5 separate regions of the Homo sapiens genome follow, and regions 1, 3, 4 and 5 are each linked to region 2. The links are contacts of gene promoters, found by promoter capture Hi-C in human tissues and cell types (Jung and others, 2019). All regions are on one chromosome and are shown on one strand. The core of a region is centred on a gene start or on the middle of the fragment in contact, and the rest is flanking DNA. Distances in the headings are between cores, read along the strand shown.

Region 1 (2,700 bases), core at 134-2,633, 460 kb before region 2:
CGCTCATCAGGAGACCCTATTGAGGGTGGAGCTGGGCAGGTCCCACAGCTGACTGCTGGCAAAAAACCCAAGGCATGGGCACCCCACCAGCTGCATACCCACAACAACACTGCCCTGCCCACAGATGCCCCGCCCTTGACCTACTGCATCAACAGACCACCTACAGATATACCCCACAACCTGCTCTGACTCTGCCAAGCACAGAGGACCTTGGTGGGCCTCCAGAGAGCTGTGGGTCTCCTGGTGACCTAATCTTTGGCTTGGACCACCTCAAAGGGAGGGAGGAGCACAGCTCACCAGAGCCGCCTTTGAGGCTAAGGAAAGGCAGGCACGGCACCAGTGATTGGAGGGGGCTCCTTTAAGACCCAGGAATGGACTTGGTGAGGGGATCATCTCTCTCCCAACCCTGTCTGCCCCACGACAGAGCACTGCTGCCAATGCATTGAAATACACTGAGAGGCACATGGCTCAGCTAGAGTCTATCTACAAGCCCTTACTGTTTTTGTTCTTCTTCTTATTATTATACCTTTTAAGTTCCAGGGTACATGTGCACAACGTGCAGGTTTGTTACATATGTATACACGTGCCATGTTGTTGTGCTGCACCCATCAACTCGTCATTTACATTAGGCATTTCTCCTAATGCTATCCCCTCTTCCCCCCACCCCACGACAGGCCCCGGTGTGTGATGTTCCCCACCCTGGGTCCAAGTGTTCTCATTGTTCAATTCCCACCTATGAATGAGAACACTCAGTGTTTGATTTTCTGTCCTTGCGATAGTTTGCTCAGAATGATGGTTTCTAGCTTCATCCATGTCCCTACAAAGGACATGAACTCATCCTTTTTTATGGCTGCATATTATTCCATGGTGTATATGTGCCACGTTTTCTTAATCCAGTCTATCATTGATCGACATTTGGGTTGGTTCCAAGTCTTTGCTATTGTGAATAGTGCCACAATAAACATACGTGTGCATGTGTCTTTATAGCAGCATGATTTATGATCCTTTAGGTATATACCCAGTAATGGGATCGCTGGGTCAAATGGTATTTCTAGTTCTAGATCCTTGAGGAATCGCTACACTGTCTTCCACAATGATAGAACTAGTTTACAGTCCCACCAACAGTGTAAAAGTCTTCCTATTTCTCCACATCCTCCCCAGCACCTATTGTTTCCTGACTTTTAATGATCACCATTCTAACTGGTGTGAGATGGTATCTCATTGTGGTTTTGATTTGCATTTCTGTGATGGCCAGTGATGATGACCTTTTTTGTGTGTGTCTGTTGGCTGCATAAATGTCTTCTTTTGAGAAGTGTCTGTTCGTATACTTCACCCACTTTTTGATGGGGTTGATTTTTTCTTGTAAATTTGTATAAGTTCTTTGTAGATTCTGGATATTAGCCCTTTGTCAGATGGGTAGATTGCAAAAATTTTCTCCCATTCTGTAGGTTGCCTGTTCACTCTGATGGTAGTTTCTTTTGCTGTGCAGAAGCTCTTTAGTTTAATTAGATCCCATTTGTCTATTTTGGCTTTTGTTACCATTGCTTTTGGTGTTTTAGACATGAAGTCCTTGCCCATGCCTATGTCCTGAATGGTATTGCCTAGGTTTTCTTCTAGGGTTTTTATGGTTTTAGGTCTAACATTTAAGTATTTAATCCTTCTTGAATTAACTTTTGTATAAGGTGTAAAGAAGGGATCCAGTTTCAGCTTTCTACATATGGCTAGCCAGTTTTCCCAGCACCATTTATTAAATAGGGAATCATTTCCCCATTTCTTGTTTTTGTCAGGTTTGTCAAAGATCAGATGGTTGTAGATGTATGGTATTATTTCTGAGGGCTCTGTTCTGTTCCATTGGTCTATATCTCTGTTTTGGTACCAGTACCATGCTGTTTTGGTTACTGTAGCCTTGTAGTATAGTTTGAAGTCAGGTAACGTGATGCCTCCAGCTTTGTTCTTTTTGCTTAGGATTGTCTTGGCAATGTGGCCTTTTTTTGGTTCCATATGAACTTTAAAGTAGTTTTTTTTTCCAATTCTGTGAAGAAAGTCATTGGTAGCTTCCTGGGGATGTACAAGCCCTTACTCTTAAGCATAATCTACTGATTGCAGCCTGAATTACACCACCAAAAAATACTTCCTGCTTTCATTGCCTGTGAAACCCAGTGCAGTGTTCTAGCAACAAATAAAAATCCTGTGAAGAGCCTTGGCCCTCTAAAAGCATCCAGAAACAAAGCCAATCAACTATACTCAACTTACACTACAGTCAAACCCTCAAGGTAAATAAAGACCATAAAAAGCCCCATCCAAATCACAGCAACTTCAAAAGATAAAGGAACACCAGCCCTCACAGATGAGAGGGAACTAGCACAAGGACTCCGGCAATTCTAAAAGCCAGAGTGTTTTCTTACCTCCAAACAATTGCACAAGCTCCCCAGAAGTGGCTGTTAACCAGATTGAAATGGCTGAAATGACAGACATAGAATTCAGAATCTAGATAGCAAGGAAGCTAAAAAAAAAAAAAGAGAGAAAGTTGAAGCTAAAAAAAAAAAAAGAAATAAAAAAGAAAAAAACAGGAGAAAGTTGAAACCCAATCCAAGGAGAACAGTAAAATAATACAAGAGTTGAAAGATGGTATAACCTTTTTAAGAAAGAACCAAAACTGAACTCCAGGAACTGAAAAATTGACTACAGGAATTTCAGAAT
Region 2 (2,700 bases), core at 50-2,549:
CCGGTATGCATCATGCATCAGCAAGGATCCTAGGGCATCTGCGGCCCATACCCTGGGTGGCAGCTGGCCTGGATGCAGCACAGGTTGAGCTCTTGGGGCATAGGCCTCCTTCCCACCTTGTCCCCCCGCTGTATGCCTCCAGGGCCTGTGGGCCGCCTGCACCTGGTCGCCGGCCTTGGGTTCTCCACCGAGCCTGCCTCTGAGTTATCTCCCCTGAGCCCCAGCACCTGCCGCCCATCCGCACTGTCCACCATCCCTGACATTCGATTCCCCCACGAGGCACCTCGCCTGTGCGTGCAGTACCTGTTTTGCTTCCACCCCATTCCCAGCAGCGGGTTCCGCACCTGGGATCGCACGTGAGATTTCCCCCCACCCCCCAACCGCATGCCTGGGCTCTACTACCTGCACCTGCCGCCCCACCCCTGCATCCCGCTCCGCACTTCCCGCGCATAGGTTTGGCCAGGCCCTCCCTATTGAGGCACCTGTTCTCCAAGACAGAGCCGCTGTGTCCCAGGTGCTCTGGGTGCAGGCGCGAGTGGGGATTGAAGGAGGCGCTCTTATTCCACTCTGTCCGGGACAGGGGCGGCTTTGTCCTAGGGCACTCTTGCTTTAATAGAGAGGGCCCGGCCACACCCACGTGCGGGAAGTGCGGGGCGGGATGCAGGGTTGGGGAGGCAAGGGCAGGAAGTAGGGCCCAGGACGCGGTTGGGAGGGCGGGGAAGCTCAGCTCACTTGGATCCCAGCTGCAGGGCCCGCTCCGGGGGAAGCCCCCGAGCTTCCCGGTTCCGAAAGTGTGCAGCCACTGAGAATTTATTAGCCTCGTGGATCCCTAATCTTTCCCCTTTTCTACCCTTTGGTCAGCCGCATTCTAACAAACGGCAAGCACACGCCCCGCTGGGTAGCAGCAACCCGAGAACGCCCCCACCCCCGCCCCCGCCAGACGCCGGTTCCCGCTTGAGAGGGTGAGGGTCCCGAGACCCCTGCGAGGAGGAGGGTCGCGGGGTTCCAGGATGCCGATGCCAAGCAGGAAAGATCACCTCGTTGCTTCTTCCACCGGCCTCTCCGCGAGACATAGCTAAACTTGAACTTGGCATTCCAAGGGTCTGGAAACATCTTCGTGGGACCCATCGAGAGGTTGTTTAAAGACTGGCACCCGCTCCCGCGCCCAGGTGGGGAAAGGGCTGGCCAGAAGTGAAAGTCCGGTCGGGGCGCCACACCTAGGCTGCGGATTCCGAGAGACTGGGAGGCTGGAGGCCTGGGAGGCGTGGCGGGGGCGGAGTCGCCGGGGGCCGGCTTCGCGCACTTCCCGGGCCCGGCCGGCCTGGATGGACTAGCCGGGGCCATGGCCGGCGCGGCGGCGGAGTCAGGGCGGGAGCTGTGGACCTTCGCGGGTTCCCGGGACCCGAGCGCACCGCGGCTAGCCTACGGCTACGGCCCGGGCAGCCTGCGCGAGCTGCGGGCGCGCGAGTTCAGCCGCCTGGCAGGTGAGGCGGGCGGGCAGGCTTGGGGGACACGAGGTTTCTGGAACCGACGTGGACGGATCTTTTGCTCCTAGTGAGAGCGGCGCTACCTCATTCGGGCGCATTTTGAATCGAAACTCCAGGAGGGACGTGTCCACGCGTCCTCCTAGTAGACACGGCTCCCTGAGGTCCCACCTGCAGCCCCAAGGCTTCTTGCTACTCTTACTCTTCCGACTTTCCGGTGGGCAGGACCAACCTAGCCGTCTTCCCCTTTTCCCGCCCTCCGCGAGCGGGGCTTAGGATGGTTCTTGCCCTCTCTTGCGGGAGACCCCTCACTGTAAAGGGCCTGCTGGGGCCGGGGTTGCAAAAGACAGCATGTCCAGCGGCCGTGACCCTTCGGATGTCCTCCCGAGGTAGGAGCGGTGCGTGGACCGCCAGCGCCCGGGCTGGGACAGCACCTCTGACGGCGCGCCAGGTTGGGACCGGGAGGCCAAGGCCTCTTGGCCGGGGCCTCCCGAGGCTGCGCTCTGCAGACTCCTCTGGGATAGCCTGTATTCAGCTTTGATTTTCGAAACCTCATTTTCCTTACTCTTACAGCGTCAGAACAATCCCTCTGAGCTCCAGTTCTCTGGGGGACTAGAAGAATTAGCAAACAGTGCAATTTCACCTTTAAGAACAGGGCGAGCCTGTGAATTAGACAACACCAAGATCACATCGTGCCTTTCCTCAGAGCGGAACAGGCTGATGAAATTGCAAATCAAGCTCCATCTGGCCTTGGCCGACCCAGCCCTCTGCTGCCAGGGCCCAAGTTCGTGACTCATCCCTCTGCCAGGGACTTTGGGTGCAGGGCTTCATCAAGCCCCAGGGCCGCGTGCCGGATGGTCAAGGAGGGTGTGCAGGTGAAGTGGGCACGTCTTGGCACAGGGCACCGGGGTTTGAGTGTATCTGCTCTGTCGCGATGAACAACTGGTGACTGCTCCCCTTCTGGGGGCAGAACAGCAACCATGACTTAGGTTTCACTACTCGGGTAGCTGATTTCAGCGCTTCGGGTCACTTCCTGGTGTTGTGGAGGGTAACTGTGTTTTCCCTTTGGGGGCTGTGAGAACTGTGGCCTCCTCCTGTGTGTCTCCTCTGGCTTCCTAAGTAGGGAGAGTCAGGAGGGAGACGGGGGTGCCTTCTGCCAACCTCTCTATTCACTCCTCATCCTTCCCTCTCGCAGGGTCACCTGCTGGAGACAGCT
Region 3 (2,700 bases), core at 161-2,660, 360 kb before region 2:
CCAATTTATCAAGATGGAAATTGCAGTGAAGAAAGAGTAATTCACACAGAGTGGGCTGTATGAGAGACTGGAGTTTTATTATTACCCAAATCAGTCTCCCTAAGCATTCAGGGATCAGAGTTTTTAAGCATAATTTGGTAGGTGGGAGGCCATTGAGTTGGGAGTGCTGATTGGTTGGGTCAGAGATGAAATCATAGAGAGCAGAAGCTGTCCTCTTGCACCGAGTCAGTTCCTGGGTGGGGGCCACAAGACCAGATGAACCAGTTTATTGGTCTGGATGGTGCCAGCTGATTCATCCAGTGCAGGGGCTGCAAAATATCTCAAGGACTGATCTTAGGTTTTATAAGAGTGATATTATCCTCAGAAGCAATTTGGGGTGGGTCAGAATATTATAGCCTCCAGCTGCATGACTCCTAAATCGTAATTTCTAATCTTGTGGCTAATTTGTTAGTCCTACAAAGGCAGTCTAGTCCCCAGGCAGGAAGGGGTTTGTTTTGTCAAAGGGCTATTATCATCTTTGTTTCAAAGTTAAACTATAAACTGATTCTCCCAAAGTTAGTTCAGCCTGTGCCCAGGAATGAACAAGGACAGCTTAGAGTTTAGAAGCAAGATGGAGTTGATTAGGTCAGATCTTTTTCACTGTAATAATTTTCTCAGTTATAATTTTGCAATGACAGTTTCATTCCAAAAGTGTGAGGTCCCAAAACTAAAGCAAAAGATTACTGTGTGCCCCTTTAAACTCACAGGGGAGCATTGCTTAACATGGCTAGGGGGCAGTTGTTATCTAGAGAAACCTGGTTTGACATATTATTGTGTCAACCTAAATAACAGAGAGAGACTCTCTAAAAGCAAATGATACTTATTCAGGAATATAGCATTGCAATGCAACTATATGTGCCATAGTAAACTGTGTATTCAGGTAAGTAAAGGAAGACAAAGGTTTTTAATGGAAAATGAGAAGTGTAACTGGTGTTGACAGAAAGAGTCAAACTTTGTAAAATGTTTAAAGAGGTTTATTCTGAGCCAAGTATGAGTGCCTAAGGCCCAAGACACAGTCTCAAGAGGTCCTGAGATTGAAACCACCCTTGCAAAAACTGTAACTGAGGAAATTATGACAATGAAAGACATCAGACCTAACCAACTCCATCTTGCTTCTAACTTTTAAGCTGTCCTTGTTTATTCCTGGGCATAGGCCAAACTAAGCTTGGGAAAGAATTTAGTTTACGGTTTGACTCTGAAAAAAAAAAATTGTTAATAGCCCTTTCCTGAAAAGACCCCCTTCTTACCTGGGGACCAGTCTGCCTTTGCAGGACCAGCAAATTAGCTACAAGATTAGAAAGTACTGCCAGGCGCAGTGGCTCATGCCTGTAATCCCAGCACTTTGTGAGGCTGAGGTGGGAGGATCACTTCAGGTCAGGAGTTTGAGGTCAGCCTGGCCAACATGGTGAAACCCTGACTCTACCAAAAAAAAAAAAAGTTAGCTGGACATGGTGGTATGCACCTGTAGTCCCCAGCTATCAGGAGGCTGAGGCAGGAGAATTGCTTGAACCTGGGAGGCAGAGGGTACAGTGAGCCAAGATTGCACCACTGCATTCCAGCCTGGGTGACAGAGCAAGACTCAGTCTCAAAAAAGAAAAAGAAAGGAAAGAGAGAGAGAGAGAGAAAGGGAGAAAGGGAGACAGAGAGAGAGAGAGAGAGAAAGAAGGAGGGAGAGAAAGGGAGAGAGAGAGAGAGAAAAAGAGAAAGAGAGAGAGAGAGAAAGAGAAAGAGAACAAAAGAAGGAAGGAAGGAAGGAAATAAATTACAGTTTAGGGGTTATGCAGCCTCTTGCTGCAAGAGTCTGAAGCTCCCCAAATTGCTCCTGGGGATAACATTACTATTGCAAAACCTAAGATCAGTGTTTGATCTGCAGACCCTGAATTTGATGGATTAGCTGACACCACCCAGACCAGTAATCTGAATCAGTCAGTTCTGTGATCCCACCCAGGAACAGAAGACGGAAAGAAAATGTCACTTAGACCCCCCTATGATTCCATCTCCAACCTACCCAATCAGCACTCCCTACTTCCCAAGCTGCTTCCCACCAAATTATCTTTAAAAACTGCAATCCTCAAATGCTTGGGGAGACTGATTTGAGTAGTAATATAACTTTGGTCTCCTGCACAGCCAGCTCTGCATGAATTACTCTTTCTCCATTGTCCAGGCAGCAGGCAAGGTGAATCCATTGTATGGTTAGAAGAACATGTGCCTAAGGTGGCTGGGTTTTAGTTTGGCTTTATACATTTTAGGAAGACATAAGACATCAGTCAGTACATGTGAAGTATATATTGATTTTGTGCAGAAAGGTGGGACAACTTGAAGCAGGGGGCTTTCAGGTCATAGGTGGATTCAAGGATTTTCTCATTAGCAATTGCTTAAGAGAATTAAGTTATTATCTAAAGACTTAGAATCAATGGAAAGGGGTGTCTGGGTTAAGATAAGGAGTTGCAGAGATCAAGGTTCTTATTATGTAGATAAAGTTTCATGGGTGTCTCATAGATGTCTCTAAGGGAGTGCCTTAGAGATAATAGATGGCACGTTTTTCCTATTCAGACCTTTAAAAGGTGCTAGATGCTCAGTTAATCTCTTCAGGACTGGGAGAGCCTAGAATAGGAAAGATCTAGTTGTGTTAATATAGATTCTTTACAGATGCAAGTTTCC
Region 4 (2,700 bases), core at 107-2,606, 380 kb after region 2:
CAGTTTATGTGGCCTTTGCATGGGCTCAGCAACGAGTCCCCTCAGGTACGTGCTTCTAGACACAGAGTCTTCATGGTTGGTGAAATTTTAGTAAGGAAGTTGAGTAAATTGAGGGTTTTTAAAGTTAAAATTCTAAAAGTGTTGAAATCCTAAATAGAGAGAAGTACAGAATTAATATACTAGCATGTACTCTTAATTGTTTTACATAACATCCAAAAACCTATTTCTGATTTTTACAGAGGACTGATTTTTGAAGGGTTGTATATTAATAAGGCACATTTGTGGAATCATGTCTGAAACCTCAGACTGCAGATAGAAATACCTAGTGAAAGCTTGCTCCCTAGTGCCAGACACTTCATAATACACCCCCGCAGGGGCTTTCGAGTAATGTTACCTTGGAACTGGGAGTTTTGGAGGTCTTTGGGTTAAACCCTTGTGTCTCTCAGATGATACCATTGAAGTCCAGAGAGGTTAATTAGCATAACAGCATCAAGAACAGCCAACCATCAGCCACGTGCTGTGCTAATACATCAGCATATTTCATCCTAACCATACAGGATCCAGGTTGGACTTGTCTTCCATCTTATGACTGCGTAAGCTCCATAGTTTTTGGAAGTAAGAAATGGTGGAGATTACATGCAAACCAGCTTCTCCGTGGGTTTAAGTCCCGTGAGTTTTCTTGATGCGGTACTGTCTTAGAAGCAAAAATCAGGGGAACTATTCTGGTATCTTTTCTTTTCTCATGCCCTGGAAACTCATGTGTCTTCTCCCAGCTACATGTGCCCCATCCTTTAAGGTATGTTTCTTGTCAGCCTCTCCATGAATCCTCCTCTAATTACTCAGGCTCATATCAGCTGCACCCTTCTCTGAATCTGGGTGTTTATGAGCTCCATTCCACTCTGCTTGGGCTTAATTACTCGTCTCTACACCTTGTGTTCATTGTCTCTGTCACCTGGTAAGCAGGGATGTCAGTCAGGGACAGATGCCCTAAGTGTATGTGTCCTGCATGGGCCGTCACTAAGCTAGGAGGAGCTGCTTTTCCCGGGTTCATTGGCCAAGCCCTTGTCACTGACTCGGTGTCACCCCAGGTGACACCCCAGGTGAACACATGAGCGCGAATGAGACAGTCCAGCCACTGCTGACCCTGCTGCAGAGTCCATTTCTGGTTCATTCCACCTGTGGCTGTGACCTGTTTTGGAGAGGCTGTGTGCTTCCACTGGTATTTCATTGGATGTAAGTCTTAGAAGATCATTATAGAATAGATCATTAAAATGACTGTTTTACTTTCCATAGAGAACCTAGAAGTCTGCCAAAAATTTTTAGAGGTTCAAAACTTGCTAATCTGTTATACTTTCCTTCATTCCTTTGGTGTCTCCTTATCTAAAATATGGGGGACTGTAGAACGGGAAAGACTGGGAGAGGGTGAGGAGCATAGGTGTAACTGAGGCTGCTACAGCCCAGCAGTAATGAAGCACCTGTTTCTGTACAGGTGGCTGATGAGGGCTCCTTTTAAATCTTTAGCATGGGAATCTTGGATATAAACTTTGCTGCTGTTGGGAAGATGAATGAATAGGCCAGAAACAAACCAGTCTTCTGTGTGTATTAGATGGGAGAAGATGCAGAGAGCTTAGCTACATAATGTCCTGCTGGGAAGAAAGGTCTATCAGAAAGAAGCACATCAGTGTCAGTGTTTCTGTTTGGAAGGCCTGGGGAGGAGGGAGGGGAGACGGGCCCTCCCTCCTTTGAGAGTTACTAAGAGTTAAGCTTGTAAGTGTTAGGGGAGAATATTAGGTCTGATTTTTTTAACAACTTTTTTGGGGGACCTTTTTTAGAAAATGGTCATTCTAAGGTAGAGAGAGGGTAGTAATTTAAGACTGCTTTAGAAAAATTTGCATTGCAAATGCTGCTAAATGTCAGCAAGGGACTCAAAACTTTGACACCTTGTTGGAGCTCTTTGTGCTGATTAAATTCTTGTCTCCAGCCTAGAATTGGCAGCTTATTCTCCTTAATTTTCATGCTGTAATAGGTATTGAAAGAGTATTTCTTTGACAGTTGCCCTTGGGGAAAACTGGACCGGAGCTTGTTATTTAGGGCAGACAATTAAGTGGAAAAGAATAATAACTAGACTCCAAGGTCTTCATTTAGTTCCAAGAATGTCAACAATATCAACCTCTTTTTAATACTTACTGCGGGCTCTGGTGAATAATGGAAATTAGGGGTAGACAAATCCAGTTCAGAGTTAAGAAGAATGAATTTTAATGGTCTGATTAAAATTAATTGAAATCCCTTCTTTAAGATGAATTAGCCCTTCCCAGAAGATAAGGGGTGAGTGATACTAATAGTTTTGTTTTGTTTTTCTCTCTGGAGATTACTTTGATTTAAAAACTCACTGCACATTTTCAGAGCTCCTGTGTTCTAATTGAAGAAAGCAGTGCCTATCTTGGTGCTTAGTGATGGGCTCATGGAAGAACTGATTGTACCCTACAGTATCCCCATCTTCATTCCCAATGTGCAAATCACAGATCATTCCTCCCAAAACAAAATAAAACCTAGTTACCACTGATACTTGCTTATAGCAGAATGTTGCCCTGTGGTAAGTTTCTTTAATGTTTCATACCATTCATTTATTTTTTTTTCTGTACTTTTGGTAGAAATAAATAGGAATTATTTCCAGTCACATTCTCAAATGGCAAAATATCT
Region 5 (2,700 bases), core at 90-2,589, 310 kb before region 2:
TAGTGAAGATAGTGGTCCTTCTTGCCTCAATCCTGACTGTATTGAAAATACCACTAGTGTTTCTCCATTAATGAAATTATTGATTAATTCTTATTTCCTTGCAGATTTTCACTGGAAATCTTGTCAAATACCTTTTTCAGCATCCATGGAGAACATAGATGATTTTCCATTATTATAACTATTAATTTGGTGTGTGTATTTATGGATTTCCTAACATTGAACCAACCTTGCCTAACATCGAACCAACTTTGTTATTTATTCCTAAAATAAATTCCACTTTGTCATGATGTATTATATTCTTAACTTGGTGTGAGGTTCCTTTTGATATTTTATTTCATATTTTTGCATAGATATTCATAAATGATATTGTGAGAGGAAAGAAAAAGAAATCAACTAGTCAGATAGTTAGGGCAAGGGTCCTCAGTAGAGTTCCCTTCTAACAAAAAGCAGCTTCTCTTCTAACAAAAAGCAGCCCAAGAGGTCATTTCTCTTTCAGCAAAGAGAAGCCCGAGAAATCAGGCTGCAAACACAGATAAGGAAGGCAAGCTCTAATACATAAAGGGGCCTCCTGTGTGACATATGGACATACAGTGGGTCCAGTAAGCACATCCTCTCCCTTCTTGGAAATGCTAAGACAAGGAGGCTTGCACAGGGGAAGGAGACTAGTAGGGGGGATGCCCCCACTGTGTTTCTCTCCACCTGGGTCACTCCAAAACAGGGGAGAAGACTAAGGGATGCCTTTCCTTCCCCTCCCCTTCTTTCTAGGTGGGTAACAAATCATCTTCAGCCTGCTCTCCTCTTGAGTGCATTCTGAATCACTGGAACTCTTTGACCCCGGGACTGAAGAAAAAGTGGTCATATTCTTTTGCACAAGGGTGTGGCCTTCTTACCAGCTTGGGGATGGACGAACCTGGCTTTCTGAGGGAAGTCTTTATTTTAATACTATCCAACAATTAATCTTTTCTGTGGACGAGAGGGCAAATGGTCTGGGGTCCCCTATGTACAGGTTTTCTTTGCCCTGCAGGACAACTCAGACCTCTGCAAGTGATACACAATTGACCCAGTTCTTTTAGCAGTCATATCAGGCAGACCCATGGGGAATAACTCCCCAAAGCTAAGAAAACTAATTCCTGGAAAATCCTCTGAAACAACTACTAAGTGTCTCAGTCCCTCTTGTCCCCCTTATCTGGGGCCCCCTCCTCCAACTGTGCCATCAGCTCCTCCAGTTCCACCACTTCCAAAACTCCCTACTTCCCCAGCTTCACTTTAACCCCTGCAAGAAATGCCTGATGGACATTGTGCCACAAGGGTGCAGGTTCCCTTCTCATTGCAGAACCTTAGACAAATAAAAGTAGACCTGGGTAGATTCTCTGATGACCCCAACAGATATATAGAGGCTTTCCAAAATCTAGACCAAGTGTTTGACCTCACATGGAGAGATGTTATGTTACTCTTAAACCAAACCCTAACAGCTGCTGAGAGGCAGGCAGCTCTGCAGACAGTAGAAAAATGTGGGGATGCACAACATATTTCTTACAGCAGGCCAAAAAGGAAAAGAGGAAATAAGGAAGGAGAGGAAATTATGGAACAACCATTCCCAATAGGGAGAGAGGCAATACTACTTGAAAACCTTGGCTGGGACCCTAGTGCCCCCACTGATGAACTGAAAATGAAACACTTTTTAATATGCATATTGGAGGGCCTACAAAAAAACTAGGGCCAAACCTTTTAATTACTCTAAGCTCTCCATGATAGATTAGAGACCAGATGTGAATCCCTCAGCTTTTACGGAAAGACTGAGAGAGGCCTTAATAAAACAGAATTCCCTGTCTGTTGACTCAGTTGAAGGACAGCTAATCCTAAAGGACAAGTTTATTACTCAGGCAGCACCTGATATTAGAAGAAAATTACAGAAACAGGCTATAGGACCAGATAGTACTCTGGAGAACCTCCTGAGGGTGGCCACCTTGGTCTTTTACGATAGGTATCAGGAGGAGGCCCAGGAATAAAGAGAGGAAGCACAGGAGAAGGACAGAGGCTCTGATAGCCACTTTACAGGCCTGTAAAGTCCAGGATCCATGAGGTGCACCCACTAATTGCTATCGGTGTGCCAAATCAGGGAACTTTAAGAAGGGCTGTCTAGGCAGAAAGAATAAGCCACCTCGACCCTGTCCAGTGGGGACTACTGGAGGTCAGACTGCCCTCAGAGACATAGGTCACTGGGTCAAGAACTGGTCTCACAAATGGTCTGGCAAGCCTGACAGGTCCTGGGGCTCAATTTCCCGGCTCCAGTGGCCCAAACTGCCATTACTGCCCAGGAGTCCCAGGTGATTCTAGAAATGGAAGGAAGGAGGGTGGACCTCCTTCTGGATGCTGGAGCCAGTCTATCTGTTCTCTCCAGTCCAGGCCTCCCCTCTTCCCATAGCATGACCATAAAGGGCATCTCAGGAAAGGTTCTAACCCAATATTTTTCTCAATCCTTTAGTTGTAGCTAGGGGAACCTACTATTTACACATGACTTTTTAATCATGCCTGGAAGTCCCACTCCCTTACTAGGTAGAGATATTTTAGCTTTCATGGGAGCCAGTATCCTTACGACCCTAAGACAAACTCTTTGTCTTCTCGTGGTGGAAACCAATATTAGCCCAGGGGTGTGGGCAAGCCAGGGGAAAATCAGCCAGGCTATAACCACTATACAGG

The links. The method cuts DNA at HindIII sites, captures the fragments that hold promoters and counts their contacts. A contact is called where the count stands out against the background at its distance.
Region 1: a contact is called between a fragment that was not itself captured here and the fragment with the promoter of MOCOS in region 2, in 1 of the 25 tissues and cell types used here (heart right ventricle).
Region 3: a fragment that was not itself captured here is called in contact with the fragment with the promoter of MOCOS in region 2 in 1 of the 25 tissues and cell types used here (mesendoderm cells).
Region 4: a fragment that was not itself captured here is called in contact with the fragment with the promoter of MOCOS in region 2 in 1 of the 25 tissues and cell types used here (aorta).
Region 5: a contact is called between a fragment that was not itself captured here and the fragment with the promoter of MOCOS in region 2, in 1 of the 25 tissues and cell types used here (spleen).

What each region holds. Positions count from the first base shown.
Region 1 is chr18:35,722,023-35,724,722 of GRCh38, forward strand. All of the region lies in intron 1 of LOC105372064 (a long non-coding RNA gene), which reads right to left. Among named protein-coding and RNA genes, the nearest start is that of MIR3975, 130 kb to the left of the region's middle. The HindIII fragment of the contact is 3,436 bases long and covers 1-2,700 here.
Region 2 is chr18:36,186,198-36,188,897 of GRCh38, forward strand. It overlaps MOCOS (molybdenum cofactor sulfurase), which reads left to right and starts at 1,300. Exons shown (of 15, transcript NM_017947.4): 1 at 1,300-1,484. The coding sequence starts at 1,343. It overlaps COSMOC (cell fate and sterol metabolism associated divergent transcript of MOCOS), which reads right to left and starts at 1,238. Exons shown (of 2, transcript NR_134605.1): 1 at 1,038-1,238. RefSeq lists an enhancer at 1-344 and silencers at 1,104-1,367, 1,213-1,402. The HindIII fragment of the contact is 25,317 bases long and covers 1-2,700 here.
Region 3 is chr18:35,829,158-35,831,857 of GRCh38, forward strand. No RefSeq gene overlaps it. Among named protein-coding and RNA genes, the nearest start is that of MIR187, 74 kb to the right of the region's middle. The HindIII fragment of the contact is 5,187 bases long and covers 1-2,700 here.
Region 4 is chr18:36,563,007-36,565,706 of GRCh38, forward strand. All of the region lies in intron 5 of FHOD3 (formin homology 2 domain containing 3), which reads left to right. Among named protein-coding and RNA genes, the nearest start is that of TPGS2, 260 kb to the right of the region's middle. The HindIII fragment of the contact is 5,121 bases long and covers 1-2,700 here.
Region 5 is chr18:35,872,151-35,874,850 of GRCh38, forward strand. No RefSeq gene overlaps it. Among named protein-coding and RNA genes, the nearest start is that of MIR187, 31 kb to the right of the region's middle. The HindIII fragment of the contact is 4,153 bases long and covers 1-2,700 here.